7 separate regions of the Homo sapiens genome follow, and all the other regions are linked to region 1. Evidence: promoter capture Hi-C in 16 types of primary human blood cells and fetal thymus (Javierre and others, 2016). All regions are on one chromosome and are shown on one strand. The core of a region is centred on a gene start or on the middle of the fragment in contact, and the rest is flanking DNA. Distances in the headings are between cores, read along the strand shown.

Region 1 (4,223 bases), core at 726-3,225:
AAATGAGGAGACTACAACCTACGCAGCATGATTGTCTTGATGAAGAACACCCAGCCAGGCTTTAAAGTTCCCCTTGGAGCCTTCTCTTTTGCCAGCTCAGGGCTGGTGCCTTATGCTGTTAATTGAGTCATTATGTACTCTCACTTTGGACAAATAAATGGGCTCTGCTCTTTTCACATTGTGACTGCTCCCTAATGAACTGAGTCTTGACAACCTTCAAGACTCCAGAATCCTGGAAACAAGCCCTCCAAACCTACACACAATTTGCTTTCTACAGGCAGAGAAAAGTGTTCTTTGGGCCTTAAACTTGTACACACACACACACACACACACACACACACACTGTTATTTATTGGACAGGTGCAGTAAATCGCTTTTTCCAGAGTCATCTTGATGTAGGTTTACAAGGAAAAAGAAAAATACTGCCTTCTTTACTGATAGTATCAAAAATACACTCATGATTCACCATAAACCAGCCTTAACACCACATGGTCTTGGATAAAGGGTACTGAAGGAGTGATTCCGAAGTGCCACGGCGACCAGGTATCAATAGAGGGTCACGGTAGTTATTTCACCAGCGAGCAACCGGGTTAACATTTGTGGATACCGGCTTCTGAAGCACCCTCATAAATCCCAGCCATCCCTTAGGGCTGGAAGCTCCCTTCCAGAGAGGATCCATGCTATGCTAACTCCATCTCACTTCCTAGTGGCCTGTGACAAAGGTCCATTTTTGTTTGCAATTTATCCAGTGTCTCAATCAGCATGCAATCTGTCACTGGCATAGAAAAGGACAGTAATTTATAATGAAGCACTGTTTTGAGTGAGAAATGAATCTTACTACTGAGATTCATTCTCCCTCGGAACGCTTCAAGAAGTCATCTGCCTTCTGCAGGGCCACACCCATCTTGCATGCAGTTAGCCGCAGGAGGGCCAGGCAGTTTCTGTTACGGTTTTCCAGCAAAGCCCACTGCCTCCTTCCTCCTCACCCTCAAGTGGCAGAGGCCAGGATGGCAACACACGGCCACCCCCAGGCCTCATTGCGCTCCTCCCACAGGCCACCCGCCCACTGCGGCGCCCCGGCCCGGCAGTGCCAGCAGCAGGTCGGCACCGCCAGCGCCACGCTTCTCGGGGGCCCTGGTGTTCCATGGGGTACCAATCCAAAGGGTTCGGCTCAACTGGTAAGGGCGAGCAGAGGACCTGGGGGAGACGGGGCTGACAGAGGAATGCAAGCTGAAGCTGTAGCGCCACTCAGACCCCTCCACAGGATTTCTGCGGGAAACTGCGCGCCAGCACCGCGTCCCCATGAAGAAAACGGAGGGTGACCTGCGCGCCACAGGGAACAAAAGATGCGACAGGGAGGGAAAGGGGAGTGGGTGCTGCCACGATGGGGTAAATGGGAGAGACAGAATGGTGGCAGGAAGGGGAAGGATGAGTAAAGGGGGAAAAAAGGGAAATACAGGGTCGCCTGGAGGGGGTCGAAAGAAGTGCAGCGTGAGGTGACGGGTGCGCGCGCTAAAGGACAGGAAGCAATGCGGAAGGGCTGCCGTTTGGGCGAAGGGAAAGAAGCAGAGGTAGGTGGACCACGGGGTGGACCACCTCCGGAATCTTGCGGCCCGCGGGCGGGCAAGAGGCGCGCACGCTCCCTGCTCCTCGCCGCCTGCCCGCGTGGTGCTGCGCGCGCTGCACCCAACGGCCGCGTGGTGGGGAAGATGGGAGGGGATGGGGGTAGGCCGCCGAGCATCTCCTGCCCCAGAATCTGGCACGCTGACGGGGACCTAGGGACAGACGACCGCACAACACGCCACGTTGCAGGCGCTGCCAGGCCGGGTGCCTCACCTAGCTCCTTCATGTATTCATCAAAGCCTTTGCTGTCCACCAGGCGCCATCTTCCTTCCAGCTGCTGAACTGTGGCCATGGTGGGTGCGGGCGGGCTGGCGTGCAGAGAGGGGTCTGCGTCGGCGTGGCAGCGTGCTGTGAGGCACCCGGCGCCGGCGGCTGCTTTATAACGGCGGCCCGCGCTGGGCGGCGCTATGCGGCCAATGGGAGGCGGGCCTCGCCCGGTCCCCGCCCCGCCCGCCGGGCGCCCCCTGGGCCTTCTCGGGGTCGGGAGGTGCTAACCAGCTCCTCTTGCCAGGGTACGCGACGGCCTCTCGGGCGCCTCCTGCAAGCAGGGACTCGCCCGGCGCGCCCCACGCCTCATGGACGCCGGCGCCTGCACGTTTCGGCGCCTCTGCAGGCCCAGGAAGCCAGAGGGGTCACCTGGAGGCCTGGCCCCGCCTCTCCTGCACCCCTCCGTTTGACAACATATCCACCGCCGTTTTTCCTTTCAAAATACCCGGACCAATCGATTAGCCCTCGCCGGACTCGGACTGCAGGAAGTGATTGATCGGCTGTTTGGTTTATTGATTCATTAACTACGGTGCCTCCCTGACCTTCTGCTCCTCGCCAGCGCACAAGCTCACAATCCACACCCTCCTAAGAGAACCTGCTCTCGCCATCCGCAGGTCTCCCTGGCCCAATAGTGGGGATATACCTGAGTTGAGCTAGAGGATTTTATCCCTGTTGGGATGGGGGACGTCTCGGGAAGTGTGGTTTCTAAACTAAAAGACTGCAGGAAGTGTCAACTTTAGTGACTGTCATTGCCATTCAAGAATGTTTGATTAGTTTATATTCCCTTCGTAGTGCACCCTTCACCGTTTCTTCTCAGACACCAGCGGGTTTCTTCTCAGACACCAGCGGGTTCCCTCTTTCTCTTGAACTATAATAATACCCTACACATGTGCGTAGAACATGATACGTTTCAAAGTGTACTCTTCACAATTTATTACTTGGTGCTCCCGGGTGCCTGTTGGAAGTCAGATGGACTGAGGTGAGGAAGTTGCCACACAGGCTGGCCGTTTCGATAGCGGTAATGTGCATTTATTGAGTAGCTACTAAGTGCTAGATGTGCTTCCTGGGCACTTTATAGACATTGGTCTCCACTATATTTTTGCTAGGGGTGTTATCCCAATTTTTCAAAAGAGAAAATAGGGCAAAGATAGTTCTCACAGTGGTAGAACCAGAATCCCCATCCAGGTCCGTCTCACTGAAGACCTTATGAAATCAGACCACACCTGACTGCCTTGGGCTCAGGGTAGCTGTGATGGAGCTCTGAGTAGACCACAGTCACCGAGACACTACTAGTTCTTGTATCATCCTTGACAAAATTGAAATCTGAGGTTGGTTTGCTATCTCCCAACATGCTGCAGGACATGTACTCCCCTGAACTGCATCCCTTTCATTTCAAGTCCCTGCCCTCAGTTTAGGGTCACACCAGTCTTCCTTGTGGTACCATTTAACACTCAATTGTTTTCCCAATAAGGGTCTGCATGTCCCACACCCGAGGCCCTACTGCTCAGAAAATATTCGTGTTCTGAGGGAAGCTGAGTGCATCATTTACTCAGTGATGAGAAGCCCTGGCTACCAGGCACTTCAGGCAGCTCCTTAGGGCTGCCTGTGTGTTTGAACTTGAGCTCTTCATGTGCTATTTCAACATGTCTTATCCATTTCTGTATAGACTATATGTAGTAATAATAGGACGCAGCACTCTGATACTAATTTTTAAATGATCATAATCTAACATGTTACAGAAATATCAAAAAGATAATGGCACTGGAGTACTAGATACTTAGGTACTTAAGAAATAGCCTTTAATCCCAAGGCCTTACTTAAAACTTAAGTTTAAACACAATCTCTGATGTGATGAGTGGAAATAATTCTTTTGTGTTAAAACATACAGACAAAACAAAGCTATATGGCCAGAATAATAACCGTTATTGTATCTTGTGGAACAAAAAAGGGCATGGTGATTGCTCTGTTCCTCAGGGAAACACATTGAATGTCTTGTTTTCAGACACCACATCTGATGCATATACAGATGTATGATTGGAGTAGATTATTTCTAATGCCCCTTAAGCTCTACTACTCAGATTCTTTCCTTCTCCAGAGTAATGGTAATGGATTTTAAGCTGTGAAAAAGCAGTTAAGTACTGCCTTCACCCGCTAAGTAAAGGCCTATTCTAGGCTACTTACCTTGCACCCATTATGAGGTGTAAAACCAAAAATGTTGTGAAATCAAATTTCACTGAAGTCTCATATAACTTTATGGAGATGGTTGAGTATTTCTTCTTGGAAAGAAGGAGGAGAATCATCACTTGATTGTGATTAATTACAACATAGGAAAC
Region 2 (4,223 bases), core at 655-3,154, 380 kb before region 1:
GACCACAGCTGTATAGGAGGACCACATAAGATAGGATTCAGAACACATAGTGCAGAATCTACACCATAGTCTTAATTATCTGGTAGTTAAGTAATCTGTTTGGTAATCCTTTCATAGTATTTTCCATAAAAGAATATTCTCTTGCTGATTGTAAGACCATTTGCTTGAGATCCCATGGTGCTCATTAGAAGTGACGGAAGCACCGCTAGTAGATATCACTGTTGTTTGGCTAGCCTAGGATTCTATATCTGAATAGAGTACCAGGGAATTAATTATGAAAGACCTTGGTATTTGCATTCTATGATATGAGATATCAAATATCACATATCTCATGGGAGAAGTGGGGAAATGCACTTTTCTTTATAACTAAAAAACTGCCACTAAAGTTAATTTGATTTTATTTATCTGGGAAACAAACATCTGTGGAAATTTGGTGCACTTACTACTACTTTCTCAAATTTAATGTGCTTCAAAAACATATGATGGAAAACATGCCAAATCAATGACATCATGTTATTCTAATCCTTTTTAAAATTTATTTGGCATAAAGGATGTACTTAGGTGCAATTTTTTTATTTTTATTTTTGAGATATAAAACAAATGCCACATTAGTCATCAGTTTTCCATGTTTTTAAATAAATAAACTGTGAAAGATCTCATTGAACAGAACTCACTCCCTTATTACCATCGCTTTAAACAGTTGGAGAAGGAATTTGTGTAAAAACCACTTGAAAGTAACTTGTAGACATGATGACGTTTGTCTTCTAAATACACATTTCAGCGTGTGTGTCTTTAATAAAAGGGACATTGTCTAACATAGCCACAGTACAATGATAAAAGTAAGGGAATTAACATGGATACATAATCTAATATAAGACTTTATTCAAATTTTGAAAATTTTAATCCAACATCCAGTCTAGAGTCATGTATTGCATTTAGTTGTCATTTCTCATCAATTTCCTTTAATTTAGAACTTGCTTAGTCTTTGTCTTTTATCACCTTGACATTTTTCAGAAGTATAGGCCAATTATTTTGTAGTCTGTCTCTTGAATTTGAATTTGTCTGGTTTCCTCATGATTATATTTGGATCATGGATTTTTGGCAGGAATGCCGCAAAAGTAATGTTCTGTCCTTCTCAGTGCATTTTATCAGGCACATTTCTTTTTGTCCCATTATGAGTGATATTAACTTGGATAACTTGGTAATGGTAGACCATTGTAAAGATGCTATTTTTCCATTGTACTTATTATGTATCTTGTGGAGAGACACTTTGACACTCTGTAAATTATCAGACTCACCCATTAATTTTAACATTGATTCTTTACTGAATAAATTATTACTATAATTGCTATCAAGTGTATTTATATTCAACTTAACTTGTATTCAAGGAAGAGGTGCTATGAGAGGGCAAACCTGCAGTAATTTTCCAAGGCAGGCTTAGGTCTTTGCAGAGCCTGGCATGCTGTTGTTGCTTTAGGCACATGTATGACGCACACCCAGTTGAAAATGACCCATACCATGATATTTTACACCTCCTAGAGACTATTTGCATTGTGGGTATGTGTATATGTGTGTAAAATAATATAAGCTTTAGTAGCTGGATTTAGACAAATATTAATATACTTGCATTTCATTATTGTAGAATTAAGCATTGTCTTTATTTTTTATGAAAAATTATTGTTTTAATGTTTATCTTATTAAATTATTGCTTTGTGAGGGTTTTGTGATTTATATAATATACGATGATAATTAGATTTATACATATTTTTATTTTACAATTAGATATCACCTCTTAAAATCTTTATCCTCTAGATCGTTCCAAGTTTCTTCAATCGACACTTAAAGTGAAGTTAAGGAGGAATATCTTACTTGAAAGGATTATTTTTTCCAATTTTATTTCTAAATTCTATTTGTTAGGATCCGGAGTGTTGGAACAGCAGCTGTTAATATGTGCCTTGTGGCAACTGGCGGAGCAGATGCATATTATGAAATGGGAATTCACTGCTGGGATGTTGCAGGAGCTGGCATTATTGTTACTGAAGCTGGTGGCGTGCTAATGGATGTTACAGGTAAAATTATGGAGAGTGAAGCAGATCTCCACACATCTGTTGGACTTTTGTCCATATGTAGAATTTAAAAAACTTTTTGATATATGTTATACTGCAGTTTTTGAAGCAGAAACAAGCTATATAATTGTGTGCAAAATCAAAATAAGCTTTAGGAGATAGAGGTAAGGATAAGAGGTAATGGTAATGTGAGACTTACAATGATAAATGGCTAATCCTTTTCTAGTGTGAGTTTCAGGTACTCCTGAAAGGCTGTAGAAAAAGCCTAGACCAAGTTTGTCCAACCTGCAGTCCATGGGCCACATGTGGCTCAGGATGGCTTTGAATGTGGCCCAACACAACTTTGTAAACTTTCTTAAAACATAATGAGTTTTTTGCGATTAAAAAAATTTTTTTTAGCTCATCAGCCGTCATTAGTGCTAGTGTATTTTATGTGTGGCCCAAGACAATTCTTATTCTTCCAGTGTGGCCCAGGGAAGCCAAAATATTCGACACCCTTGGCCTAGACAGTCACCGAGTCTGAGGCTTATACCCAGAGCTCTTTGAATGGTGACAATGGTGATAGTTGATGATGGACTTCCTCCACCATCACTTTCTGTGTTGAGACTAGAGAAGTTAAATAATTGCTTTCAACTGATGGTGAAAATTTTAAACCGAAGGGTGAATCTGTGCTGAAAGAATTCACCAGTGATCTGGGAGAAAGGCAACAAAGAAATAAGGAAATGGGAAGGACAGTGGTATGAAAATGCATTGGATTCACATTTTCTGTCCATAGATTCTTAAACAATAAAGAGGTAATAAGAATGCACAAAAATAGAGAAAATATGACATTTTCTAACTGGTATGACTTCATTATTTACTCAAAAATTATGCTTAGAAACAGTTATATATTGTCTAAGCTTATACATTGTAGAAATGTAACAGTAGATTTTTGTTTAAGAAAACTGAAAGTATTAAAATGTTATGTGACCATAGTACATATTGCTATACTTGTTTTATATGAATTATTTTTGTACCAGATAAAATTATTTTTCATACTTGTTTGCTTTTAGGTGGACCATTTGATTTGATGTCACGAAGAGTAATTGCTGCAAATAATAGAATATTAGCAGAAAGGATAGCTAAAGAAATTCAGGTTATACCTTTGCAACGAGACGACGAAGATTAATTAAGGCAGCCTCATAGTCAATCCCAGTTGCTTTTCCCCAGATTTGGTGACTCATCAATGGATATGTGTTTTGGATGTATGATATGCTTGGTTTAAATTCTCTTTGTCCAGGTCAAAAATTTGGAACTTGTTTCTTATTTTACTATGTCTAGGTTTGCAAGAATTGACATAATGTTTGTTTCACTGATTTAAAAAATTTTGCATGTAAGAATGTACTTTAGGAAACATACCCAGGAAGTACAGTTGATAAATATAACATCAACTGAAATAGTCAATTAGCAATTTTGTGTTTCTAAATATCTATGGTCCCCTGAAATTTTGACTTAGTATATAGGTGCAGAGACACCCACTTAGAAAGTTAACTGTTTGGAAAAACATTTCTCTTTAGTTTCAAAAACCATATATAATTAAATTTGTAAGGATATACTGAGTACCCTAGGCCAACTTTTTTTTCTTTGCAGAGAACCTTTTTTGTTTTATTCTTCAGTGTTCATATAGCACCTGGCCCATTACATATCTAGGCAACTAAAAACAAACATTGTAAGAATGAATATTTTTAATGTAGTAATTCCTAGTTACAATAGATACATAAAGTAATGAACTCAGCATTCTGTACTTTTGCTTCAGGTTTGAAGTAAAAATTATCTAGTTAAATTTTTTTTATTTCACGTTACCATGCCATTTCACATTACCATACCATCAGATAGCATGGCTTATTGTGGGCATTTCTGCAGTGAATACATTTTCCAAAACAGTTAAATTGTCTGTTTGGATTTGCTTTAAAGTCTTGTGTAAGAGAGAAGAAACTATTTCTATAATAAAAAGCACTCTCATCAGATATCTGACATAATTAGATACAATATAACATTTTACTAAGTTCAGTATTCATGTTTTAAAGGTGTTTATACTGATTTGATTGTGCTGGCAAATATACTGTATTGTTAATATTGAACTGTTTATTTTTCTCTTAGTCTTCTTATTTAATTAAC
Region 3 (4,223 bases), core at 611-3,110, 360 kb after region 1:
GGCAAAAGTCTTCCCGCATAGAATACATCCATCACAAGCCTGGTCAGAAATAAGCCTCCTCTGGAAGGAGACAAGATGCAGACGTGCGATGACAGACTCAACTGGGCATGTTCAAATCTCTCACCAGAAAAACAGCCTCTGTCTGTCAAGTTCCTTGAACTTTTGAGTTACTGGCTGGGGTGCCAAGCAAAGGGCTCAGCCAAATCCTGAGCAGAACTCCTTTCCTCTCCAAAGAGCCAGTAAGGAATCAACGATGAAGAACTTGCCAATTTTCTGTCACTTGGAGAGTTTCCAAGCTTAGGATCCTGTTCAGAGGACCAAAGTCCAAGAGGCTTGAGTAAAAAGAGCAAACAGAACTCTCTTAACTCTTACAAAATATCACTAAAATATGTCGGAAATGCCGTGAGGAAATTACATACTTTTAATTTGTCAGGTCAGCAAAAGCGGGTGGTTAGTAGAGAAACAATCTTGTGAGCTGGCAATTTGTTTTTCCCTCCCTCCTTATGTGTATTTGTGTGGGGTAAGTCATTTTAAATAATTTCCTCTGACTTGGAAGTTTGGAAACATAATGGAATTCAAAACACAGTGGTTTTTTTTTTTTTTTTTTCTTGGTGGTTGTTGTTCCTCAGAAGTCAGTGAGGGAGGAGAGAGTGGGAGGTGGAGAGATTTAATGTCCCAAACTGATTTAAAAACTGACGTTTAAGAAAATTTCCCTCCCACATAAATAGGATTTTTCATGGTATAGGGCTGTTTGTGGTTCTCTCTCAATGCTCCAGATTTTAAAGCGGTACTCTTTAAGTAACCTCTCTGACCATGTAAATAATGAGACAACAGCAAGAAATCATCTTTGAAAAAGTGATGATTTTACCAGAACAGAGGCTCAAATAATCTCATTGTAATATTTTGAAAGATTGAAAGAAATAAGCTTTATTTACTTTCTTAGACTGAAAAAAAAATCAATTTTTGAAAACAAGAAAAAATAACTGAATGCTTAATAACCAGAGAGCCCTTTGTAACTTTGGTCATGGTGAATAGATTAAATGAACTCTCACCTCATTTGTAAGCAGAACTTAAACTTCTTCTCTCACCTGTTGGGGGGAAGGAGAAAGTGGCTGGTGAAATGAATGCCCCTGGAGTTAGTTTTCCTAAATCAATGGTCCTTGAGATCTTTCCTTAACTTTCAAGCTGCCCTGGACATTCTCTGCTTCCACAGCTGTGATAAGTTACAACTCATTTGTGTGCGTGCGTGCGTGCGTGCGTGTGTGTGTAGAAAGAGGAACTTCTATGAAAGAAACAGTTTGTTTCTGTTGTTTCAAAAAACAGAGTTTTGTTGGTTTGGAGAGATAAGCTCCATCTAATACAAATACAGAGAAAGATGGCGCTGCTGCTAAAACAAACCCTTTAAGCATCTCAGGGTAAATCACAGAAAGCACATTTCCAATGTCCCACTGGAGAGTTTTGCTTCTTAGAGCTATGGCTTCTCATCCGTGTTTCTTTGAATCAATGGTCTTTGCATCATTTGGATCGCTTTCTCAGAACAAAGGGACAAGTTATACCAGGGGGCAGTCAAGTCTCTACTTTTATTTATGAGACCCAAATACATGCTGATCTCCTGTGGTCTCATCTCTATGTTTAAAGAGTACCAGTCCAGCTGCCAAATAGGAATTAAAGAGGATTCGAATCTATACTTCCCTCTCCCTCACGGGTTCTAATCAAGAGCCCTCAAAGCCTCTACCTCCTTCTCTGCCAATTCTCCCCCAACCCATAAGTCTCCGGCAATCCCCAAGAGCCTCTAACTTGTAAAATCCAAAATTCCCTCTTCCAATACAGCCCACATGGCTTCTCTCTGCTTAGTCCCCTGGCCTACCTTCTCTCCCCTTTTTGCGATATAGATCACCATTGCCACTCTAAGCCATTAGCCCCATTCACTCACTTCCTTTCCACCAACCTTTCCATTTCTCTGGCCTACCCTCTTCCATTCTCCCAATTCTGCCTAATAAACTGCCCAGGAACCCAACTGGCAAGGACTCTCATTTAGTAGTTGGAGACCGAGTTGCAGAAGAAAATGTATGGATGAGGCAAGGGCTTGGAATAGAGGAAGCTGGACGCCTTCACCTGTAAACAATTCCACCCACCACACCTGCAAGACAGAAATACAGCTTGTAAACACAGCTGATAACTATTTTCCCCCAGCTTCTAGAGCACCTATCAGGGTTTCTTTAGCCCTAGCCTGCTGCAAATCTGCATCTTATTTCCCTTTTCTAAGGGAGCATTTGCTAGAAAGGAGCTTCTAAGCACCAAGCCTAGGCAAGGAGCAAGGAAGTAGATAGCTGTGAGCTGCAAGGGTCTGTAGCAGCTCATATCTTATTCCCTGTCTCTTCTCCCTTCTATGTTTTGACTCCAAGAATTACAGCTTTTTCCTGTGTGCAATCCATAGACGTCATATCTAGCCTATCATGGCCAGAATATTGGCAGGTGAAGGAGGGTTGAGGGTGACATGAAAATGAGGAGTGTCCCACAGAGCCATTGTGGGTTGCACTACTAGCTATCGGCCCATTATTCTTTCTCTCTGGAAAGTGCTTATCGAGACTACTCTAGAATCAGAGCTGCCGCCAGACAAGGTGGGACTGAATATTACAGCCTCCTCTCCTGAAATCTGTTGTATTGCCCAACAAAAATGTCCATCCACCCTGACTACTCTTTTTAATTGCACCCAGGAATGTTAAAAAAAAAAAAAAAAAAAAAAAAAGAGGAAGGCTCTTGGTGTGAACTCTCTCTCTCAAACTGAAGCTTGGATTACTTCATAAGTTAAAGCTTGAAAAGTCATGCATGCTGTACTAAATTCATTGAATTTCTTCTTACCACAGAACATCAACCTACCATTGACTTCAGGCTGGTTTTGTGTACACTAGTCCATTGCTTAGAATTTTATAAAAAGGTTGCTGTATCTCCCTCTAACTTACTATACACATGTATACACGTTTTCCTTCCACACCACCTCTTCGATGTCCACTACACAATTCCTGCACTCATCCCTCATGTTCTTACCACCCAGGCCTCAGCTTACTTCTTTCCCAGTCCGTCCCTTCAATCCTGACTTTTCTGATCCTCTATCTTCTCCTAGCCTTTATCCCTGCCATTGACCATCATTGACAACAATGATTTGGTGCTTACTATGTAATTTAAGACTTTACCCTATGAGGTATGTGTTACCGTGATCCCTTTTTTTAAATTGTGGCAAAATACACATAACATAAAACTTACTATGTTAACCATTTTTAAAGTGCACGATTCAGTGGCACTTAGTGCATTCACAATATTGCGCAGCTGGGTGTGGTGATTCACGCCCATAATCCCAGCACTTTGGGGAGCTGAGAAGGGAGGATCACTTGAGCCCAGGAGTTTGAGATCAGCCTGGGCAACATAGGGAGACCTCCATCTCTACAAAAAATAAAAAATTAGCTGGGCATGATGGCATGTGCCTGTGGTCCCAACTACTAGGGAGGCTGAGATGAGAGGATGGCTTGCGCCTGGAGGTCAAGGCTGCATGCAGTAAGCTGTAATCATGCCACTACTCCAGACTGGGCAACAGAGCAAGATCCTGTCTTGAAAAACAAAAACACACACACACTTACAATATTGTGCAAGCATCACCACTATCCAGCTCCAGAACATTTTTATCACCACCGCCCCCCCCCCCCACCCCCGGAAAAAACCCTATACCCACTGACACCTACTGACCTCCCACCAGCCACTGGCAATCACTAATCGGCTTTCTATCTCTACCAGTTTTCCTACTTTTGCCGTTTCTTATAAATTCAATTATATAATGTGATTAAATATCGTATGATTTTTGTGTCTGGCTTCTTTCACGTAGCACAATGCTTTCGAGGTTCATCCATGTTGTAACAATGTACAGTATTGCATTCCCTTTTATGGCTGAATAATACTCCAGTGTAAGGATATACTGCATTTTCTTTATTCATTCACAAGTTGATAGATATTTGGGTTGCTTCCACCTTTTAACTATTATAAATAGTGCTGCTTTAAACATTCACATACAAGTTTTCATTTGAACACCTGTTTGCAATTCTTTTGGATATACCCATAAAAGTGATATTACTGGGTCATATTTTAATTCTATATTTAGCTTTTTTTTTTTCCTTTTGAGACAGAGTCTCACTCTCTCACCCAGGCTGGACTGCAGTGGCGCAATCTCGGCT
Region 4 (4,223 bases), core at 1,170-3,669, 350 kb before region 1:
GTTAAGCATCCAAAGAGTGCTTCCAACAGTAGAATGCTACACAGGAGTTCAGAGGAAGGCGGTAACTTTTCAGTTGTGTTGGTTTGAGAATGTTTTATGGAGTACAAGGTGAATATGATACTTTATTATGGTAGCAAAACGTAAGATCTTATTAGCTATCCTGGACACTCCACCCCTGACCAGCTGCCATGGTGTATATATAATTATATTAGGTCAGAGTCCACTTAAATCATTAACTATTAACTGAGAATATCATGGCATGTAGAAGCTAAAACTTTTTTTTTAATGAAGAGAGAGGTCATTTAAAAGAAGTCAACTCCAAAGACTAAGTGCAGTTGACAAGATGCCTATGATTTCTGGGGAGGGAAATTGCCCACTCATTCCTGTGGCGGCCTCTCTTTATTATGCAAATACAGGGCAAGTAAGCACTGTCATCCTTGCCTTTGGGAAAGGATAACAGACCTTCTTGTGGCTTCACAGGGCCACCCTTCCCTAGAACTCTCTTCTGTATGCTCAGCTGTCTGGGGAGGTGTCAGGGGCATTGGATCTCACCTCTCTTTCATTCTGAGGTTCAGCGTAATTACAACCTCTCTCACAGATGGGAGTCAGCTGACAGGAAAGGATACCAAAGGCCTCCAAGAGGGAGCTTCCCTTAGGGAAGGTTGAAAGAGTGAGGAGCTGGACATCATGCCAGGAAGCAGAGTTTGTGCTGCTGTCCCCTGCCCCCGACAACACCTGGGCACGGCAGACGTTCTTAGGATTAGGAACAGTGGCTGCAGATGGGACCAGAGTTTTAGATACTGCCCCTTTGGGAACTCAGAGGTAGTGCATCCTGTACTGAGGTCTCTGCAACTTTCTGAACTACTTTCACAATATTGGACCAAAGATCCTTTGGATTTGTGAGACCAGTTTGCAGCTTTACCACAATCAAATCTGAACACTAAGACTTCCCTGTGTACCGACAGATTTTGCATTTCACTTTCAGTAGGCATTTGGAAGCAGAACGGCCTCTTTGGACTGAAAAAATCTAGGTTACCTGACAACAATTGTGAGGCAGATGCTAAGGTCTCTAGAAAAATACTAGGCTTCTTGCTCACCTGACACAGGTAATTTGAAATGTTATCATTTGAAGGAATAAGATAGGTGATATTGAATCTCTCTTGCTTCAAATTGATTATACTGATTTTAGCAGCTTTGCCAAATCACTGGGACCACATTCATTTAAAAAGGTTAAAAGATGATGGATGACATTTCTGCAAAAGCCTGGAAATTTTTATTTAGTTATGAATTAACACTTGTCATCATGCAGTTGGCAAGATTTTTAAGATGATTGACAATGAAGAATGAAATAGCTAGTTTCTGAAAGCTTGTCTTTAAAACAAAACAAAAAATCATTTAATAGGCAAATAGAGATATCCAAACCAGATACCTAGGCATCATTCTTTAGACAATTAAAGACAAGTTTCTTGCTCTTTGTGGGGTGTGGGAATTGGGTCCACAGTTCATATCATTAATCTCTGGGAAGTGTTTCATTGGCAACATGATTGTGACAACATCTTGTCCTTAGATTAAATGAAGAGAAACAATCACTTCCTAAGCAAGGAGCCAAATAGCTCACTTTTCTGTTCCTGCTGTGGCTGGGACATCTTATATCTGTGCAACAGTTTTTGCATGATGATGATGTATGTACCACGATGCTGCCCCTTCAAGAAGAGGAAACATTTTAAGGACCATAAACTAGTCCTTGTACCTCGTATAATGCAACCTCCTTGTGCCGTACATTCTCTGCGTGAGGACTTTTGTAGGACCAAAAGGAAAATTTCCCTTTGTTCTCTGAATGCTTGCTGAAAATCAACTGACAAAAGACAGATTAATAGGAGAGAAGGGTACAAATTTATTTGATCATAGTTTTAAGTGACATGGGAGCCTTCAGAATGAAGACCCAAGATACAGGGGAACAGTCCATTTTTATGTTTAGGTTCAAACAAAGTATAACCAGCTGTGTAGAAATAGGATTGGACCAAAAGTGTATAGTGTAATGCAAATAGACTGAGTGGGGAAACCCAGCAAAGCCTGTCTGTTTAGATTTTATTTGGCCTCTCTGTGGTGCATTCCTTCCTTCTGTGCATTGGGCAAGACCCTCTGTGGAATGGGGGTCTTGAGACCTACAGTCAGAAAAAGTGGGTTGGATAATTTCTTTATGGTCTGTTTTTACGCGAAAAATTGGGGAGATTAGAATAATATTTTTGGGTTTCTAGGACCTGCCTTGGGGAAGAAGAATTCCAGTTTCTAAGGCAAGCCTTGAGGGAGAATGTGGGGCCAGAGACAGGAAGGCAAGAGGCTTCAAATAACTTTTTTTCTGTGAGGCTGCTTCTGAGGACTTCATTTTGGGGTGTCGTTTTCTGAGCCCCAACACTTTGGAGTCAGTGTGTTTCACTGCTCTGCTCTTGCTGTGTGACCTGTGACCTGTGTGAGGACAAATCATTTACCTTCTCTGAGCCTCAGTTTCTTCATCTGTGTGATGAAGCTAATTATACGTACCTCAGGCAACGTTTAACAAAAATAATGCATATAAAAACACAATTGCTGAAAGCATAGTAAGTCCTCGATAGGTGGTATCTAAATATATCACTGAGAAAAAGGGCAGTTAGTTCTGGCTACTGACTATTAAAAAAAATTAATATAAGTTTACCAGGTAATGCTTTGGCAAATAAAAGCTGCTCAACCGAAGTCATATCTCCAATTTGTGTTTTGTCAAAATGGTACTACGGAAAAATGAGAGAAAGGGTAAAGAAAGAGAAATGGGAAAAGGCGAGTGAATGGAAGAATAAAGAAGAAAAGAGAAAAATAAAGAGGAATTGAATTTTAAAAAGATTTAGAGAAGAAGGGGCAAGCAGGAGAAAAGAAGTTAGAAGAACCAGAACTGGGAAAGAAGAGGCCAGATCTGAGGCTCCTGCGCCGGTGAAGACCCGGGCCGGGCCTAGCAGAGCCTCTCAGGGCGCAGCTCGGGGCGGGGCCCAGCAAAGCAACCACGCCCCCTCATTGATGGGCTTAAGAAGCGGCGACCTTTTGGTCCCGGGCAGCCCCTCTGCCTCCCAAAGCACTGAGGCTGGATAGCACCAGGCACCCAGCTAGCAGGACAACTCGAGGTGAGGCCCCTGTTTTCCCCGCCCCGCTCGCCGACTCGAGGTGAGGCTCCTGTTTTCCCCGCCCCCCTCGCCACCCTCTCCGGGTTCGGCGCTTCTCTCTGCTGGGGTGGGGGCGAGGGCGGTCTGCGGTGTGCGGTCAGCCCCTGGGGCGAAGGCCGCATCTGGGTGACTCTTGCCTGCCACGTTATCTGGAGCTGCCCTGGGGTGACCAGGAACACTCCCGATGTTGGAGTAGCGGTTCGCGGACGCCACTGCACTTAACCCCTGTGGCAGCTTCTGTGGAATCATTGCCGCTTTTCATTTTCCCTACTCCGAAAAGCTTAGAGAAACTTGGCGCATCCCAGGCTCAGTTAGTCACCGTAAGTGATGGGGCAGCGCCCGGATGACTGGCAGCGCCAGTCGCGCTGCTAGGGACAGGTGGCCGACAGATGGCAGAGAGATCACTTACAGGTAGTCACCGTAAGAGATGGCGCAGCGCCAGTCGCACTGCTGGGGACAGGTAGCCGAGAGGAAGATGGCCTGGCTCCCACGCTGGGAAGGGTGTGACCAGGACAGAAACAGCAGGAAACAGTTCAGGTGTTTATGGATTTGGGAAAATGAAAGTGAGTAAATACGGCCCCTTTCCATTAAGAAATGTACTTGTGATATGATACATATGTGTATATCAGAATAAATGTATTACATATATATGTTTTCATCCACCATTACTGGCTCATAACTCCCATAAGCCCTTGTTACAGTCTTTTGTTATAATGTCGGGGCACTGCAGCCCCCAGAAAAATGGAATTTCTCTCTTTGACCTTCTGTCCTCCTTTCATCTGCTGCTTTTTCTCCCCAAGGTAAGGATCTTCCCCTACCTTTGTGTCTTGTAGCTGGTTATAAATAAATTCTCTGGCCTATCTTTGTCTGATTGTAGTTCATAAGACTCCCATTTCGGAAGAGGCCCCGCTCCATACCCAGGAGGAAGGAATGCTGCAAAGGGGAACCAAGAAGAATCTGAACAGACAGACCTCACTGGGTTTCCCTGGTCTATTACTATTAGATCATACAGATTTTGTGGGATGATATTCCTAC
Region 5 (4,223 bases), core at 934-3,433, 330 kb before region 1:
TTCAGTCTCCTGGGTTAAGAGCCTAGGCAGTGCTATCAGAGAGCTGTTTGCTGGAAAGCCTGCACTGCCACATCCCCTGGCCTGTGTTCTGCTGCTAAGCCTCATTGTCTGTGTGAACACATAGATTAATTACCTAAATTGCGCCCTGGATATATTTAACACTTCCATCATGACTCCAATACATTACATATTCTTTACGACATCAGTTTTTAAACTTGTTCAGCTATTATTTTTAAGGAGTGGCAAGATATGCCCATTGATGATGTCACTGGTACTTTTGACTGGCTTTACAATAATCGTGGGGATATTCTTGTTGCATGCTTTTAAGAGTGTCAGCTTTAGTCTAGCAAGTCTGCCTGTGTCTCTTCGAAAAGACAAAAAAGCAATGAATGGCAATCTCTCTAATATGTAAGAAGTTCTTAATAATAATGAAGAAAGCAAAAGCTTAATCTGTGGAATCAAACTACACACTGGTGAAAATATCTCCTGAAGAAATGGAATTCTGACAGCTTTTTAAGAAAGATATAATTAAAAGGTTAATCTGTAATTCTGTTATAAAGTGAATGTGAATATCAGAATATGTCTGAAAAAGCACTGTTCTCAAATAATGATCTTTAAAGACAATCCTTTTAAAGGTTTCACTAATTTGAACTAAGAAATCACTTTTCTGGTTTTTTTGTTTTTTTTTTTTTGGAGACGGAGTCTCACTCTGTCACCCAGGCTGGAGTGCAGTGGAATGATCTGGGCTCATGGCAACTTCTGCCTCCCAAGTTCAAGCGATTCTCCTGCTCAGCCTCCTGAGTAGCTGGGACTACAGGCACGCCGGCTAATTTTTTGTATTTTTAGTAGAGATGGGGTTTCACCATGTTAGCCAGGATGGTCTCAATCCCCTGACCTTGTGATCCACCCTCCTTGGCCTCCCAAAATGTTGGGTTCACAGGCATGAGCCACCGTGCCCGGCTCTACTTTTCTGAAATTTAAACAATGGTAGCTCACCAAAATGAACTCAGTGCATGACTAATTTCTATTAACATTGTATTACTGTAGAGATTTTTTTACATTTTGAATCCTTATCCAAAATCTAACACTGCTTAAAATGACAGTTTTAAGTGTATAAAAATGCTTTATTTTTTCATTGGTGATGAAAGTCTGAAATGTACATTTATTTGTCATCCCCACTTCATTAATCCCTAATCATATAGGCTTTTTGATTTTAATAAAGAACAAAATTATCCCAAAATTATCCTGTGATTTACCTTACCTATTATAACAAAATATAATACATATATTTTATAGAAAAGTTAAAATATAATATATATTATATTTATATAAAAATTATAATTATATAAATATAATATATATAAAATAGGTAAGGTAAATCAGAGGATAATCTATATAAAATAGGTAAAGTAAATCATAGGATAATAGAAATATGTATGAACCAAAGAAATGTGGTAGCTTTCATAGAAACAACTCTTTTCCTTTGCATAATTATTCTTCACTTTACAAAGTATTAAATTATTTAACTATTAAAAGTAGTACAGCAAAAAGAATAAAATGCCTAGGAATACAGCCGTCAAGGGAAGTGAAGGACCTCCTCAAGGAGAACTACAAACCACTGCTCAAGGAAATCAGAGAGGACACAAACAAATGGAAAAACATTCCATACTCATGGATAGGAAGAATCAATATCATTAAAATGGCCATACTGATCAAAGTAATTTATAGATTCAATGCTATTCCCATTAAACTACCATTAACATTCTTCACAGATTTAGAAGAAGCTATTTTAAAATTCACATGGAACCAAAAAAGAACTCATATAGCCAAGAAAATCCTAAGCAAAAATAACAAAGCTAGAGGCATCATGCTACCAGACTTCAAACTACAAGGCACAATAACTGAAACAGTATGGTACTGGTACAAAAAGAGACACATAGACCAATGGAACAGAATAGAGAACTCAGAAATAACACTGCACATCTACAATCATCAATCTTCAACAAATCTGTCAAAAACAAGCAATGGGGAAAGGATTCCCTATTTAATAAAAGCTGCTGGGAGAACTGGCTAGCCATATGCAGAAAATTGAAACTGGACCCTTACACCTTATACAAAAATTAACTCCAGATGGGTTAAACCAAAAACTATGAAAAACCTAGAAGAAAGTCTAGGCAATACTATTCAGGACATAGGCACGGGCAAAGATTTCATGACGAAATCGCCAAAAGCAATTGCAACAAAAGCAAAAATTGACAAATGGAATCTAATTAAGCTAAAGAGCTGCTGCACAGCAAAAGAAACTATCATCAAAGAGAACAGGCAACCTACAGAGTGGGAGAAACTTTTTGCAATCTATCCATCTGACAAAGTTCTAATATTCAGCATCTACAAGGAGCTTAAACAAATTTACAAGAAAAACACAACCCCGTGAAAAAGTGGGCAAAGGACATGAACAGACACTTCTCAAGAGAAGACATTCATGAGGCCAAAAAACGTGAAAGCAATCTCAACATCACTAATCATTAAACAAATGTAAATCAAAACGACAATGAGATACCATCTCACACCAGTCAGAATGGCAATTACTGAAAAGTCAAATAACAGATGCTGGCAAGGTTGTGGAGAAATAGGAACACTTTTACATTGTTGGTGGGAATGTAAATTAGTTCAACCATTGTAGAAGACAGTGTGGCAATTCCTCAAAGATCTAGAACCAGAAATACTATTTGACCTAGCAATCCCATTACTGGGTATAGACCCAAAGGAATATAAATTATTCAGTTACAAAGATACATGCACACATATGTTCATTGCAACACTATTCACAATAGTAAAGACATGGAATCAACCCAAATGCCTATCAAAGATAGAATGGATAAAGAAAATATGGTACATATATACTATGGAATACTATGCAGCCATAAAAAGGAATGAGATCATGTCCTTTGCAGGGACATGGATGCAGTTGGAAGCCATTACCCTCAGCAAACTAACGCAGGAACAGAAAACCAAACATTTCATGTTCTCACTTGTACATGGGAGCTGAACAATGAGAACACACAGACACAGGGAGGGGAACAATACACACAGGGACCTGTCGGTCGGGGGTGAGTTGGGGGACAGGAGAGCATCAGGAAAAGTAGCTAATGCATGCTGGGCTTAATACCTAGGTGATAGGTTGATAGGTGCAGCAAACCACTATGGCACACATTTACCTATGTAACAAACCTTCACATCCTGCACATGTACTCTGGAACTTAAAATTAATTTTAAAAAGCAGTACAACAGTTACAAAAATGCTGACAAACACACCTGGTGAACATATATCTTGTCTGATGGGAAGAGGTGAAGTGTGGGGTGTCAAGTGTGTCCTGAGCTGCAGTCAGGATGTTTCAGAGGAAAATGGAAAGCCTTGGATAATTTGCCAGCTTTGTAAATGGAAGTGAGAGAAGAGCTACCATGTAATTTTCATTTTTGTTTTCTTTCAAATCTATATATAAGTTCGCTATTGAATTTAGTTTCTAACATCTACCTTTTTGTGTTTAAGATATTTGCTCATTTTTCACTACACGTATCATGCCTGCAGGCAAATTGGTTATATTCTGTACATTTGGGGAATGGTCTAAGGAGCTGGACTCTTTTTGATGCTTATAAAAAGCTGACTTGGAAATAATAAGTTTATCAGTTTTAATATTTTAAAACTTAGAAATGAATTTGATAAAACTAGGAAGAGGGATAAACATGTTATATTTTCTTCTGAATAAAAGTGTCTTTTTTTAGAATTCTAGTTATTAAAATCTAGTGATTATTTAAAACATTTCCTTTTTAGATATTACCAAATCACTCTTGGTGACCGAGCTGGGCTATTGCAGAACATCAGAAATTGTAAGAACTATTCTTTCCAATATGGAAAAGCTTTCTTGCATTCCTATTCACGGTGAGCTCTTTTCATTTTACACCTAAAGTTCTAGATCATTTAACATCTTAAAATAATATATTTTCCTTTAGAAATGAAATATTAATAGAAATGGGATTGGTACCATAATTCTAATTTTGTAATGTAGCTTTGAAATGTTTTCTTTGAAAATAATTTCAAACATAACGAAAAGTTGTAGAAATAAAATAGTGCAAAGAACAATTGCCTTTTTTAATAGATTTGCCTGTTGTGAATATTTTACTCCATTTGCTTTATCATTTAATTATTCTTTCTCATCTTCTCT
Region 6 (4,223 bases), core at 629-3,128, 320 kb before region 1:
ATGGATTATAAGGTCATCAGGCTTGATCCCCCGCTCCTCATCTCAGGGTTTTCACCTCCAGCTTCACGCACTGACATAAAGTTCAGACTGGATTTCTTTCAGCTGCAGCAGCATTCCTTCCTCTGCTGTGAACCTTCACAACAAGCTGAGATTTTTTTTTTCGTTTTTGAGGGGTAAGAGGTAATACAGTCCTCCCTTGGTGTCTTTGGGGGTTAGTCCCAGGACCTCTGGTTGATAGCAAAATTTGCAGATGCTCAAATGCCCAATATAAAATGGTGTAGTATTGTTATACCCAGACAAGTTAGAGAAAACGCCACACTTTGAGATGAATTAAGAGTCCGTTATTTAAGCCAGCGGCCAAAGAGATGGCTAACGCTCAAAATTCTCTCGGCCTTGAGGAAGGGGCTTGATTAACTTTTATACCTTGGTTTAGGAAGGGGAGGGGAACTCAAATGCAATAATTCTGCAGAAGTAAAAACATGCAAGAATCAAAGAAACAAATGGTTACAGAGAGATAAACAATTTAAAAGACAAATGGTTACAAAAAAACAGTGGAACCAGGTGTGGGGCTCTAAGTCCTTTATTAGAGTTAGATATAGATGCTATGCCGGACACAGTCTCAAGGCTTTATGTTGTTACCTCTTTGAGTAAAATCCTGGGAACTTCTTACATTGTTTGTTTCAGTACCTCATCAGTCAATTGGGCTCCTTTGAAATGCTGATCTGCTTACACAGGTTAACTCCTTGAGGAAGGGGGTTGGGTAAGGAGCCCTTAATGTCTTGTAAACATCAAGAAGCCAAATGGAGTTTGTCCGGCTTTCCCAGCCAAGAGAAAGTCTTACTCGTATGGGAAAAACAAGGCTGGGTAACTAAGGAGACAAGCAGGGAAAACTTAAAAGTAACGAGTTAGAGTAAAAACAAGGTTAGGCATTACCGTATTTGCATATAGTCTATAGGTATCCTCCTTTATACTTTAAGTCATCTCTAGATTATTTATAATACCCGTATTAGTCCATTCTCACACTGCTATGAAGAAATACCCAAGACTGGGTAATTTATAAAGGAAAGAGCTTTAATTGACTCACAGTTCTGCATTGCTAGGGAGGCCTCAGGAAACTTATAATCATGGCGGAAGGCAAAGGAGAAGCCGGCACCTTCTTCACAGGGTGGCAGGATGGAGCGAGTGCAAGCAGGGGAAATGCCAGATGCATATAAAACCATCAGATCTCATGAGAACTCACTATCACGAGAACAGCATAGGGGAAACTGCCCCCGTGATCCAATTACCTCCACCTGGTCCTACCCTTGACACGTGAGGATTATGGAGATTACAATTCAAGGTGAGATTTGGGTGGGTACACAGAGCTAAACCATATCAATACCTAATACTGAAACTGCGTTTGCAAAATTATGACTGAGATAGTGATAAAGATCCATCCAACTTAAATGACTCCATCTTGCCTCTAACCTCCAAGCTGTCCTTGTTCATTCCTGGGTATAGGCGGAACTTACTTTGGGAGGAAATTAGTTTATAGTTTAAAACAAAGACGATAACAGCCCTTTCCCCAAACAAACCTCCTTCTCGCCTGGGGACTAGACTACTAACATTAGCCACGAGATTAGAAATTATGGTTTAGGAGTCATGTGGCTGGAGGCTACAAGCTTCTGACCCTCCCTAAACTGCTCTTAAGATCAATGCTTGAGATGTTTTGCAGACCCTTCACTTGATGAACAGCCAGCACCACCCAGATTGAGAAACTGCCCCATCTGATCTTGTGACCCCCCACCCAGGAACTGACTCAGTGCAAGAAGACAGTGATGCCCCATCAACACCCCCCGGCTCAATGCCCCTCCCCTCCCACCAAATTGTCTTTAACAACTCTGATCCCCAAATGCTCCAGGGACTGATTTGAGTAATAATAAAACTCCAGTCTCCCCTACAGCTGGCTCTACGTGAATTACTCTTTCTCTATCGCAATTCCCCAGTCTTGATAAATCAGCTGTATGTAGGCAGCAGGCAAGGTGAACCCCTTGGATGGTTACATTACAATATAAATGCTATGTAAATAGCTGTCATACTGTATTTTAAAAGCTTGTATCATTCTTTTTTGTTGTATTTTTGTTGTTGTCGTTGGTTGTTTTTCTCAAATATTTTCCATCTGCATTTGGTTTAATCTGCAGATGCACAGCCTGCAGATACAGAGGTCAGACCATACCCTCTTCCACCTTCTATTTTGAACCCCATCCCAACTCACACTGAACCCACCCACACATGTCTAACTTCCACTTGTATATTACCTACATATTTGGTCTTACCTTCCCTGTGACTTCCTTCAAGAAGCCTTTCCTGACAACCCAAGGGTGGGTTTATTTCCTCTCCTGAGTCTTCTGCATTTCTTCATTCAGACCACTTACCACACTATGTTATAATTGCATTTTGCCTGTAAGGACATGACTATAAACACTGTGGAGGCAGTGTTTTGCTCATTCTTGTACTCTAATTATCTGGCACAGTGCTTGGCAAATACCAAGTTCTTATAAATACTTGTTGAATAAATGAATGAAATCTTAATATCTAATAGCATCTCTCTTATGCTATTTTATACTCAGGTTTGAGGGCCATAATTTTATGCGCACCTGCAAATAATAGATAGTCTAAAAGTAGTCCAGATTTTCTCCTTTTCACATAAAGGACCAGCTCATATAATACTTGATTTGTTAAAAAACAAAACAAAGCAAAACAAAACCCCATGAAGCACCCCAAAATCTTGCAGTCATTTCAGATCAAACTGACAGATATGAGATGTGAAAAATATAATAAAACAAATATTTTCTGCTATAAAACTGAAATGAAGGAAATTTAAATGATTATGTAAAATGCATCTATATTGACAACTTTATCATACTGAGAAATTTGGATGATTTTAGCCCACTAAAAACAAACTTCACTAAAGTGGGCTAAAGACTGTTTTAGCCCACTAAAACAGTCTTCACGAAGAGCAATCCCCATAGTGGGGATTTACTCAGTCCCTTCCATTCAGGCTCTCTCTGCCTCCTCCCTCCATCACAACTAAAGCCCTGAAGGAGAATAAACTTTAAAGACAAGATTAATTAGATTACACTCCTTCAAAACCACATTATAGTTTGTAGATCAGCCTCGGTGCTGACCTGAAGCTTGTATGCTTTGCTGGGATAGTTACTAAGGGGTTCTTACCTTTTTGCTTGGTATAAAGTTGACACTGAGTAGTTATAAAGTCCTTTTTAGTTCCTATCCTGGGTCAAGCCAATTTGGCAAAAATCAAGTTCCTGGGAAACACTATTATATAGTTTGCCCTCATTTCCACTTTCACCAAATCTCAATATAATTACTTTTACAAAGCTCTGTGAAAGCCTATTTGAATGTTATTGTAAGCAGCAGCCAGTGACCTCTGAAACTCATTTTGCATCACTGTAAGAATGTTCATTGTATCTCACAAGGTTCTCTTTGTTACTCCCTAGAAGAAAGTTCACTATGATTTTAAGATTTTAATATAAAAAAAAACTGTTCTTTTCCCGAGTCCTTATGTGTTCATCTCCAAGGTCAATGGGAACTTGCTTAAATTATACATTCTAGGAGCCTACCACAGAGCTACAGAATTTGAAATTATGGTTATCATTTTATAAGCTCTTCAGGTGACTCAGATGCACACAAAACTTTGGGAATCTCTCTTATAGACCAGAATTATGTAATTGACTAGGTTTCTCTTCAAATGTGGCCACTGGAAAACTTATAGACAAATTTGTGATTCCCTGGTAGCAATTGTGTGGAGCATTATGCTTTTTAGTTATTTCTCTGTCTGCTGTGTTTTCATCTTTGATTTGTTTTTATTTCTATTTTTATCTCACTTCTAATTTAAGTTCTTGTTATGTTATATATCCATATAGCCATCTAAAATGATTTTTTGAAACAGGGCAAGAAACAGGCAGGTAGATAGCCAGACAAATAGAAAAATAATGATTACACTCAGCTTCTGTAGAGAACAAGGTATTCTTGGCAATTGGTGCAGAGTAAGCACCCTTGGCAGACCTGGAGAAAGCTGTGTGTGTGTGTGTGTGTGTGTGTGTGTGTATGCTCACTTGTGCTGGAAGTATGGAGGAGGAGGTTGTGCATATGTACTAGAGAAATACAGTACTTGTTGATCAGTGAATGACTTTTTTATTTTACTGTCATAAAGCAACTATATG
Region 7 (4,223 bases), core at 969-3,468, 300 kb before region 1:
GGCAATGCAGCTGTGTGAATTCCTAGTAGCTCTTCAAACTGGTCTCAGAAATTGTGAGGACTGTGGGATTTGCCTGTTGTAAAAACTGTAGGTATCTGCTGTGGCAATGGAGGCTGGTAAGAATCTTTTGCTTACTTACCTTTTACCTATAATGGGAAGTCTCTTCTGAGTCCAGGCCAATCTGATCTGAGTGGGGAAGATGGAGCTGCAGAGGCCGGTGCCTCCATGCTTCTCTCCTGGACTTGCAATCACCACAGGTGCATCTCCACTCACCTCCTGCAGTCTAACACCACGCCTTTGACACTCTAGTCAAATCTTAGCTGTTTATTCATTGACTTGGTCCTTTCTTGTTGGGGGAAGAATTCTAGGCTTCTTTACTCACCCAACTTGCTGGTGTCACTCTCCAGGATGTTGAATTTTATCAAATGCTTTTTCTTTGTCCATTGAGATGATTATATGTTTTTTGTCCTTCAGCCTATTGATAGGATGTATCACATTGACTGATTTGTGTAGTTGAACAATCTTTGCATCCCTGGAATAAATCCACTTGATTATGGTGTATTACTTTTTTGATGGGGTTTTGGACACAGTTTGATAATATTTTGTGGAGGATTTTTGCATCTACATTCATCAGTGATATTAGCCTGTAGGTTTTTTATTTTTGTTGTGTCCTGTCTGCTTTTGGTGTCAGGGTAATGCTGGCCTTATATAATGAGTCAGGGAGCATTCCCTCCTCTTCAATTTTGGAAGAGTTTGAAGAAAACTAGTGTTAGTTTTTCTTTAAATATTTGTTAGAATTCAGCTGTGCAGCTATCGATTCCTGGCTGTTTCTTTGTTGGGAGACTTTTTATTATTACCTTGATCTTATTACTTGTTATTGGTCTGTTCAAGTTTTCTATTTCTTCCTGACTCAATCGTGGTAGGTTGTATGTGTCCGGGAATTTATTCATTTCCCCCAGTCTTTCCAGTTTTTTAGTGTGTAGTCATTCATAATAATCTATGATGCTCTTTTGTATTTCTGTGATATCGGTTATAATGTCTCCTTTTTCATTTTTGATTATGTTTATTTGGGCATTCTTTCTTTTTTTCTTGATTGGTCTAACAAATATTTTATTAATTTTGTTTATCTTTTTAAATGAACAAACTTTTTGTTTTGTTGATTCTTTGTCTCTATTTTGTTCAGTTCTGCTCTGATCTTTGTTATTTCTTTCCTTCTGTGAATTTTGAGTTTTGTTTCTTCTTGCTTTTCTAGTTGCTTGAGGTGCATTGTTAGATTGTTTATTTGAAATATTTCTACTTTTTTGATATAGGTGCTTATTGCTATTATAAACTTCCCTCTTGTCACTGCTTTTGTTGTATCTCATAGGTTTTGACATGTTGTGTGCTGATTTTCATTTGATTCAAGAGGCTCTTGATTCTTCATTAACTTCTTCCTTGACCCAGTGGTCTTTCAAGAGTCTGTTGTTTAATTTTCATATATGTGTATAGTTTCAATGTTTCTCTTTTTATGCATTTCTAGTTTTATTCCATTGTGGTCTGAGAAGGTACTTAATATAATTTTGATTTTTTAAAATTTGCTGAGACTTGTTTTGTGTCCTAACATGTGGTCTATCCTGGAGAATCTCCCATGTACTGAGAAGAATATGTATTCTGTAATTGCTGAATGAAATGTTCTGTCAATGTCTGTTAGGTTAATTTGATCTAATGTTCAGTTTAAATCCAATATTTCTTTGTTAAGTTTCTTTCTAGATAATCTGTTTAATGCTGAGAATGGGGTATCAAAGTCCCCAACTATTACTGTATTACAGTCTCTCTCTCCCTTTAAATCTAGTAATATTTGTTATATATATCTGGATCCTCAGTGCATGGTGCATTTATGTTTAGAATTGTCATAACCTCTTGCTGAAATGATATCTTTATCATTATATCATGACCTTCTTTGTCTCTTTTTACTATTTTTGACTTAAAGTCTATTTTATTTGATATAATTATAGCTACTTCTGCTTGCTTGTGGTTTGTTTCAATGGAATATCTTTTTCAATCTGTTTACTTTTAGTCTACATGTGTCTTTACATGTGAGGTGAGTTTCCTGTAGGTAGCTTATAGTTGGGTCACTAAAAAATCCAGGGCTGGGTGCAGTGGCTCACGCCTATAATCCCAGAACTTTGGAAGGCCAACGCGGGAGGATCACAAGGTCAGGAGTTTGAGACCAGCCTGGCCAACATAGTGAAACCTTGTCTCTACTAAAAATACAAAAATTAGCCAGGCGTGATGGAGTACGCCTGTAGTCTCAGCTACTGGGGAGGCTGAGGCAAAATAATCACTTGAACCCGGGAGGCAGAGGTTGCAGTGAGCCGAGATTATGCCACTGTACTCCAGCCTGGGTGACAGAGCGAGACTCCATCTCAAAAAAAAAAAAAAAAAAAAAATTCCAGTTAGCCAATGTATTTCTTTTAAGTGGAAATTTAACCTATTAACATTCAAAGTTATTACTGATACATTGATGCTTATTTCATTTTATTAATTGATTTATGGTTGTTTTGTTTATTTTTTGTTTTTTTCTTTCTCTCCTTGTTTCAGTGTCATTTGGTGGTTTTCTGTATTGGTAATATTTGAGCTTTTCCTCTTCCTTGTTTGTGTGTTTGCTCTACCAGTTGTTTTCATGTTTTTGTGTGTTTTCATGATGGTAGATACTGCTGTTTCACTTCCAGGTGTAGGACCCCATGAGCATTTCTTGTAGAGTCAGTCTAATTGTGATTAATTCTCTCAGTTTTTGCTTGTTTAGAAAAGACTTTATTTCTCCTTCATTTATGAAAAATAACTTTGCTGGGTATGGAATCTGTGGCTAACTCTTTTTCTTTCAGCATTTTGAATATATTATCTCATTCTTTCCAATCTTGTAAAGTTTCTATTCAGAAATCCACTGTTAATCTGATGGGGGTTCTTTTATAAGTGACTAGATGCTTTTCTCTTGCTGCTTTTAGAATTCTCTCTGTCTTTGACATTCAAAAAATTGACTATAATATGCCATGGAGAAGACCTTTTTGGCACTGTATCTGTTTAGGGATGTAGAAATGTTACATTCCCTTATTTGTTCAAAATGAAGTTAAATCTGGTTCTGAGCTTTATCCCCCCAGGATGCTAAGAAATTCAATCTTAGTCATGGGTAGGGAATTCCTTCCCCTTCCTGAGGGTCAAACCAGACTTTTGGAGCAGAAGAGTGTTTCCACAGGTAAAAATATTAGGAAAGAGACACTTATGATCACAATCAAAGTCCTCCCTTTTCAAGCCTTGTGATTGGGTAGCATTGGCCCCTATGGGTTCAACAAAGGCATAAGAGCCTTTAAGAGTGGGCTCTGCCTTCATTCCAGCTTTCATTGTATCCTTGTTGGCACTCTGATTAGAGTTTAGCATTTCTACCCAGCAACAGACTCTTCTCAATCTTTTCCCCGTCCTGTTGATTTTCTCTTGCCCTTGTCTTGGAGACTTGCTCCAGGCCATGCTTTTAGGCCATGCAGTCAAAAGCAAAGTCCTACTATTTCTCCCCTGAGAGTAAGAGAACCTCTAGGATAAAGCAGCTTGGATCAAAAATGTTAGAGAAGCAGGAAAAGTTCTCAGTCTATCCCGAGTCTTACACAATAGGAAGAATAAAATTGAATTTATTATATTTATAAAGTATTCTGTTGTATATTTTACTCAAGACTCTTACCATAGCTTCCCTTTCTGGATGAACAAAAATATGGGTAGAAAGGCCTGTTTTAAGGAGACAGTTGGGCAGGGTGGGTGGGCATAAGCTAGACTTGTGCCTAGGGTCCAGCTGAGAGGCATTGACAGAACTTTGCCTTTGGGGGGACAATGGGAAACTCCAAGAGACTAGATTGTGGCCAACATCTGGATTCTGATGCAGAAAGTACATGCTTTGTCCATAGAATGTGTCTTAAAACAACTAAAGAAGACTAGATGCTAGTTCTTCCTTTATTTTTTTTTTGTGATAAGTCTATATTTTTACCAACATATTGAATGTCTGTTTACCCTGTGTAGAAATGATAAGGTAGTTACTTGGGCAGACCACTGGCCTTTTTAATTAATAGAAGAGTTTTATTTAATGAGCTCATTTTGTTGACAATATATTCAAAGCAAAGATGTTATGGCTCAGATTAAAACTTATAAAAGTAAAATAGAGTTCATCTAAAGGCATGTAAGTGTATTAGTTTCTATTTCAA

Evidence for each region. Contacts are between HindIII fragments. The CHiCAGO score rates a contact against its expected background, and 5 or more counts as called.
Region 2: a contact is called between a fragment that was not itself captured here and the fragment with the promoter of FABP5 in region 1, in 2 of 17 cell types (M1 macrophages and M2 macrophages). The highest score is 6.2, in M1 macrophages.
Region 3: a contact is called between a fragment that was not itself captured here and the fragment with the promoter of FABP5 in region 1, in 1 of 17 cell types (neutrophils). The highest score is 6.2, in neutrophils.
Region 4: a contact is called between a fragment that was not itself captured here and the fragment with the promoter of FABP5 in region 1, in 8 of 17 cell types (M2 macrophages, M1 macrophages, M0 macrophages and 5 more). The highest score is 10.0, in M2 macrophages.
Region 5: a fragment that was not itself captured here is called in contact with the fragment with the promoter of FABP5 in region 1 in 2 of 17 cell types (M2 macrophages and M0 macrophages); the score reaches 10.4 in M2 macrophages.
Region 6: a fragment that was not itself captured here is called in contact with the fragment with the promoter of FABP5 in region 1 in 3 of 17 cell types (M0 macrophages, M2 macrophages and M1 macrophages); the score reaches 8.8 in M0 macrophages.
Region 7: a fragment that was not itself captured here is called in contact with the fragment with the promoter of FABP5 in region 1 in 5 of 17 cell types (M0 macrophages, M1 macrophages, M2 macrophages and 2 more); the score reaches 15.0 in M0 macrophages.

The regions. Positions count from the first base shown.
Region 1 is chr8:81,278,288-81,282,510 of GRCh38, reverse strand. FABP5 (fatty acid binding protein 5) reads right to left here and starts at 1,975. Exons shown (of 4, transcript NM_001444.3): 1 at 1,837-1,975. The coding sequence starts at 1,915. It overlaps LNMICC (lncRNA associated with lymph node metastasis in cervical cancer), which reads left to right and starts at 1,087. Exons shown (of 2, transcript NR_186603.1): 1 at 1,087-1,178; 2 at 2,135-4,223. RefSeq lists enhancers at 663-1,497, 1,498-2,332 and silencers at 1,927-2,216, 2,227-2,306. The HindIII fragment of the contact is 5,532 bases long and covers 1-4,223 here.
Region 2 is chr8:81,658,362-81,662,584 of GRCh38, reverse strand. It overlaps IMPA1 (inositol monophosphatase 1), which reads left to right. Exons shown (of 9, transcript NM_005536.4): 8 at 1,918-2,069; 9 at 3,119-4,223. The coding sequence ends at 3,234. Among named protein-coding and RNA genes, the nearest start is that of IMPA1, 26 kb to the left of the region's middle. The HindIII fragment of the contact is 627 bases long and covers 1,591-2,217 here.
Region 3 is chr8:80,922,554-80,926,776 of GRCh38, reverse strand. No RefSeq gene overlaps it. Among named protein-coding and RNA genes, the nearest start is that of ZNF704, 50 kb to the right of the region's middle. RefSeq lists a cis regulatory region at 314-327 and an enhancer at 248-392. The HindIII fragment of the contact is 1,865 bases long and covers 928-2,792 here.
Region 4 is chr8:81,629,974-81,634,196 of GRCh38, reverse strand. It overlaps the pseudogene IMPA1P1. Among named protein-coding and RNA genes, the nearest start is that of IMPA1, 54 kb to the left of the region's middle. RefSeq lists a silencer at 3,149-3,443. The HindIII fragment of the contact is 2,102 bases long and covers 1,369-3,470 here.
Region 5 is chr8:81,613,438-81,617,660 of GRCh38, reverse strand. It overlaps the pseudogene IMPA1P1 and the pseudogene NIPA2P4. Among named protein-coding and RNA genes, the nearest start is that of IMPA1, 71 kb to the left of the region's middle. The HindIII fragment of the contact is 3,474 bases long and covers 447-3,920 here.
Region 6 is chr8:81,596,915-81,601,137 of GRCh38, reverse strand. No RefSeq gene overlaps it. Among named protein-coding and RNA genes, the nearest start is that of FABP12, 65 kb to the right of the region's middle. RefSeq lists an enhancer at 439-1,214. The HindIII fragment of the contact is 430 bases long and covers 1,664-2,093 here.
Region 7 is chr8:81,580,325-81,584,547 of GRCh38, reverse strand. It overlaps a transcript of FABP12 not described here. Among named protein-coding and RNA genes, the nearest start is that of FABP12, 49 kb to the right of the region's middle. The HindIII fragment of the contact is 5,486 bases long and covers 1-4,223 here.